Regions from separate parts of the Homo sapiens genome. Here region 2 is linked to region 1. The links are contacts of gene promoters, found by promoter capture Hi-C in human tissues and cell types (Jung and others, 2019). All regions are on one chromosome and are shown on one strand. Each heading gives the region's core, a stretch centred on a gene start or on the middle of the fragment in contact. The rest is flanking DNA. Distances are from core to core; before and after follow the strand shown. Region 1 holds the start of GPR65 (G protein-coupled receptor 65). Region 2 overlaps ZC3H14 (zinc finger CCCH-type containing 14).

Evidence for each region. Contacts are between HindIII fragments. The study calls those that stand out against the background at their distance.
Region 2: a fragment that was not itself captured here is called in contact with the fragment with the promoter of GPR65 in region 1 in 1 of the 25 tissues and cell types used here (lymphoblastoid cells).

What each region holds. Positions count from the first base shown.
Region 1 is chr14:88,003,644-88,006,418 of GRCh38, reverse strand. It overlaps GPR65 (G protein-coupled receptor 65), which reads right to left and starts at 1,284. Exons shown (of 2, transcript NM_003608.4): 1 at 1,197-1,284. RefSeq lists an enhancer at 700-869. The HindIII fragment of the contact is 6,432 bases long and covers 1-2,775 here.
Region 2 is chr14:88,599,142-88,601,841 of GRCh38, reverse strand. The region is part of intron 10 of ZC3H14 (zinc finger CCCH-type containing 14); the gene reads right to left. Among named protein-coding and RNA genes, the nearest start is that of ZC3H14, 37 kb to the right of the region's middle. RefSeq lists an enhancer at 1,511-1,790. The HindIII fragment of the contact is 4,650 bases long and covers 1-2,700 here.

The DNA of each region.
Region 1 (2,775 bases), core at 35-2,534:
TTCGAATGCCTCTCAACAGCACTCTGGGCCCATTGGTGTTTCTTCACCTCTCTAAGTTCCAGTTTTCACATGTGTAAGTTAGTACCCAGTTTCTAAGATTGTTGTGAGGGTTAAATGAAACGACATATGAAGCAAAGTTCCTAGCACATGGGAGGCATTCACTGTACGTTAGCTGGTAATATTGTTTTAATGACATTGGTAGTCTGCACCAATCTTTGTGCTGTCCCCTACATTTTCTGAAAAGAAATCATCTTTAGTCATCTAGCCACAGCATAGCAGAAAAGCTGGAGGTGCTCAGAGTGTAATTTATATGGTAACACTTCACGTATAATACTAGGCTCTGCAGATAATAGTTGTTCATTTAATTTGGGTGGATCTGAGATTTTAGTGGAATACTGTATATAATTCCTATTACAGTATTCACATATCTTTTCAGATATTATTTTGCCTCCTTTAATCAAATTTTGAGAAAATTGTTTTTAGAACAAGCACTGAGAAATTTTGGTGAGTTTTTAATTTTTTAATTTTTACCAGATGTCAAAAAAGACAATCTACAGTATATTAAAGTATATCTATTCTTGAACAGATCTAAAAATAGTACAAATCATTGATGACGATGACCAAAAGTACAATATTTTCCTACAGTGTTATAGAAAATGCTTGCTTTCATCTATCAGTTTAATAGTTACTTATTAAGACTCTACTATATATTTCAGGCACTGTGGTAGTCACTTATTAACTAATAATTATTACTTGACATTTATTAATACTGGAAATATTCTTTCCTAATATCACATTTTTTTCTGATGGATATAAAAAGTATTTACTGGACCATTGTACAGATGAGGGATTGGTGCCAGATAGCTCTAAAGCCAGGGGCTGGTAGGCTTCTTCCTAATACTGAATGAAGTTTGCCAAAGCACTGTTTCCTGAAAAGAAAATAAAGTATGAACAACCCCCTTTTTCTATATCTATGGTTTTGCCTAATTAGTTCTAAATTTAAAGTTTGGCCCTTTACCACTGCTCAAAGTAGAGGAAACCATGTGTCTTCCTCATTTCTTTCTCTCTTATCATGCTTTGCATTACCACATTTATACAGCCTAAACCAGGAAGAATGTTGCGAACATCACTGACAATTATGCCAAAGCATGTTATCTACTTTAAAATATTATTTTATTTTTTAATCTTATACTTACCCATATTTCTTCCGGTGATGTGTTTGTTGACTGAGGAGCTTGATAAATCTGTGCCTGCATCAAGTCAAGAAGAGAAACCAACACTGCTGAGGGGACAGGAAATTGCACTCATATTTCAGCACAAACCAATGAGGAAGCAGCATCTCAATGAGAAGGGTGTGCGTTATCCAAGTTTGAACAAAAAAAGTCTCTTAAATACTTTTAAAGATGTTTTTATTTATTGTTTACTGTACTGTAATTTTTATAACTCACTTGTCTCATTGCATCTTAATTACAAGTATGTACTGATATTATATTATATGCCCTTTACTTAATGGAATATATGTTAAATATTTTATTTATTTCTTTGTTCATTCATTCATTCATTCATTCATTCACTCATCATGCCAGCAGTGTGCGGGGAGATGTATACGAACTGGCTATCAACCAAAAGCAGCTTTTTTTACCTAGTAAAGGAGAAAGACATGTTTAATAATGATTGTAATGCAATGGCAAAATGAAGAAGTACTTCAAGAGGGGTACAGATAAAATAGAATGAACCATTTGGATGTGTGAGATAGGGGAGGATATTGTAGGTAGATTCAGGGTGATAAAGTTCCTGGGACAAAAACAGAAAAGGGAGAATTGAGGCTGAGGGGTTTAATGATGGATATTGTGCTGCTTAAGGCAGGGGTTAAGGTAGCCAACCTCATACCGTCTTTCTTTTCTTTTTTTTTTTGAGAGACTAATGGGATTAGATATATAGTATTTGATTGTAGAACTATTTTCTCCTTTGATTCTCTCCTCTTGGAAACAGAGATGGCTAAAAACCAGTTGAATTAACTAGCTGAGACAAATAATTTTATGAAACTTGAAAATTTTATTTAAGACTTACATTGTTATTATAAAAACTCTTGTACTTTAGCAAGTTAAAGTTAATGCCAAATCTATAAGTGGTTTAATATGAAGTGAAATTAGCTCCTATAACTTTCTTACTATTGATATATAAAAAAGTCAGAAATATCACTTTTGAATCTTGCCCTCATAAACTTTTATTAGAAATGAAGGGAAAATATTATTTGAAAGAACAGAATTTATTTGGGATGAAAACATTTGACTTAATTTTAAAGATGTAATCAGGACATTTTGAATCTGTGTTTGTTAAAGGACATTAAGGGTTGTTGCTGGTGTTTTTTTTTTGTTGTTTTTTTCTCCCTACCCAGAGATAGAAAAGATTAGCCTGTATATAAGCAAGGCTTTCCATATTGAAGTTGATCAGGGTATATCAGGAATGTAAAGATTTTCAATACTTCCGTTGTAGGTCTTTCTTTGAGAATAATAAAACTAATACCTTACATTTATAAAGCACAGGATAGTTTATAAAGTAATTTAGCATATAGTAAATTATAAATCAATATATTGTTACTGAAATAATAAAAATTAAGTATAAAGTAAAAAATTAACAATAAATGTCTTGAAGTTTTACAAAAATGAAAAGTAACGATTTCAGTTTACTTGTGACTGTAATTCAAAGTTCTCATTTTTGCTTGGTTTCGTACATCTGCTTATCTGTGGTTTCTATACATGATATATCTTTTTT
Region 2 (2,700 bases), core at 113-2,612, 600 kb before region 1:
ATCTTTTATATATTCAAATTATTTCAAAGGAAAATCACAACTGGTTCCACTCAGGAAAACAGGGCTATAATTCTATTCCAAACATGTTTTCAAAGAACTCAAGGAGTCCTTCTCGCGTAGGGCACGGCACAAGTGATTCTGATTAACACTCCCTAACCACAGCAGAGAAAGGTTCTCAGGTGAGGCATCTCAACAGATATTAACAATATACCCTTAAAGTACAAAAATCTTTTCTAAAAACCTGGAGAATTTGAGTCCTAATGCTCCCTATAATTAGAATACACAGACTGCTGAACCACTTTTCCAAAATCTGGTTTGTTCACTTCGCACAGTACCACTTAGAATCATGTCCTGATAAAAAGAATTCAAGTGGTATAATTTCCAGTTGGTTATAAACCGAGGACTACTTTAAAAGGTAACTGAAAGGTGAATGGACACTTAAACATATGTATCAAGAAAAACACTGGCCTTTAATGCAAATAACCATAAGCTCACATCATCTACTATTTTATAAAATATGCCAAGACCTACAACCCAGAATGGCTGACCTATCAATACGCCATCAACGGACTGAAGTTAATACACTTCTTTTAAAGCTTAGAGACCAAAATTTACAGGGTATTCATTTATGTTCATTCACTGAGTATTTACTGAACAACTAAGAGAACTGAGCTAGATACACAAAGAAAAAAAGAAAAACAGACACATATACAATTTCAGAATAGCATGACCCAAAAGGGATGTGAACAAGGTGCTGAGAATACAGAACAGCCCACTCCAGCCAAGAACCAACGAAAAGCTTAGCAAGGAGGAACATCTGAAGTCAGCAGTAAAGGAACAAGCAGGAATAAACAAGGAGAGAGACTCGGAGAAACGAACACAGCACTTCAGGCAGAGGAAAACGCACGTAGAAGGAAAGGGGCTTTCACAAGGCCGAAGGCATCTGAGAAAGGTTAGAATGTGGAATGGCTGGAAGGGTGTGTGTGGTGGGCTCAGCAGTACATACCAAGGAAGGCTGACACATATAATAAAGGTTCTTCTATGTCTCAGTGACTCTCGATTCTGGTCTATAATTAGTAAGAAATCAAGTGGCCTGGTGTGGCGGTTCATGTCTGTAATCCCAACATTCTGGGAGGCCAAGGCACAAGGATTCCATAAGCCCAGGAGTTTGAGACCGGCCTAGGCAACATAGTGAGACCTCCCATCAACCAGAAAATAAATAAATAAATAAAATTAGCCAGGCGTGGGAGCACATGCCCGCAGTCCCAGCTACTTGGGAGGCTGAGGTGGGAGAAGTGCTTGGGCCCAGGAGGTCAAGGCTGCAATGAGCAGGATTGTGCCACTGCACTCCAGCACGAGTGACAGAGGGAGACTCCATCTCAAACCAAAAAAAAAAAAAAGAGAAAAGAAATCAAGAGAGGTTCCTAAGGAAGGAAGTGGCCTGATCAAACTGGTTTTTAGAAAAACAGTGTTAAGGAAGAACCAGAGTTCTCGACCTGCTGTTGCCCGGGACAGAGGGTGAGGCTCTGAATGAAAAGATTCTCTGCTGTCTGTCCTGGTCTCACACACCTGACAGGAAGAGAAGACATGCTCCATCCTGGGAAGGGGCGTGCCCGCCTTCCCCAGCAAGGGCAGTACAGATGGTAAAGGGAGACAGGCGGAAGAGAAAGCTGGGATGAGAAACTTAGCAAAAGAAAAAGAGCAAAGTTAAAAGGGGCAAAGATACATTTCCATGTTAGATTTAAAGTCTTTGTGGGACTCTCCCATGTTTAAGAGGAAGTAGAAAATTCAGATTTGACCTGTAGGTGGGGGGACAGAAATAAGATGCTGAGTCAAAACCGAAGGTGACAGAAGTGTTTAACATATTCAGGGTGGCCGTCTCTCACTGAATCCTCACTCAAAGCCTACAAAGTCGGTTTCCTCCCATGTTACAGATGACTGTTTGCAGCTCCAAGTTATTAAATGATTCACCGAGGTCTCACAACTGTCAAAGGTGGGTCCCAACAGTGGCCCAGGGGCTGCTTCACTCCTTCCCACCACTCTGCACTTTCTGAGACGAAGGAGTTCTACCAGTTCATAGGTTGGGTGAACACAGAAGAGATGAAAATAATGCTGAAGGTGGGAGAGAGCAAAGCTAACCTTTTGAGGAGGAATGGAGGAGATGCGCTGACACATGAGAATGAAAGGGAATGAGAAGAATAAAGACAGAGTGAACTGGAAGCCGAAAGGTCAAAGCTTGGAGAAAGTATGGGAACCCAAGTGTAACATGCTCCAGGGTTGAGGAAAGCGTGCACCGGTCCCTCCCGCACACCTCTCTGCAAGCGGAACGTTAGCAGCCCAGGTCACATGGAGACCAGACAGACGGGGGAGTAAGTAACATCTTCTGAGTAGAGACCACAGGCTGACCCCATGCATTTACTTTTTGTTCCCTCCTGAAAGCCCACAGAAATGTCAATAAGGGTTTTGTTTTTGTTTTGAAAGCATAAACTCACAAAGAAAATAAGTGTAAAAAGAAATTTTCAAAGTGGAAAACAGATGATTAAGAACTCAGGGGATCTGTAAAAGCTGAATTCTAAGGCAATAATGAAGCAATCCAATTCAGACCACAAGATTCTCCAAAGGCTCAGGAACTGGCAGTAAAAGGACCTTAGGAAGAAATGGAAGAAATGGCAGGCAAAAAAGAGGTGTATTAGATGTGTC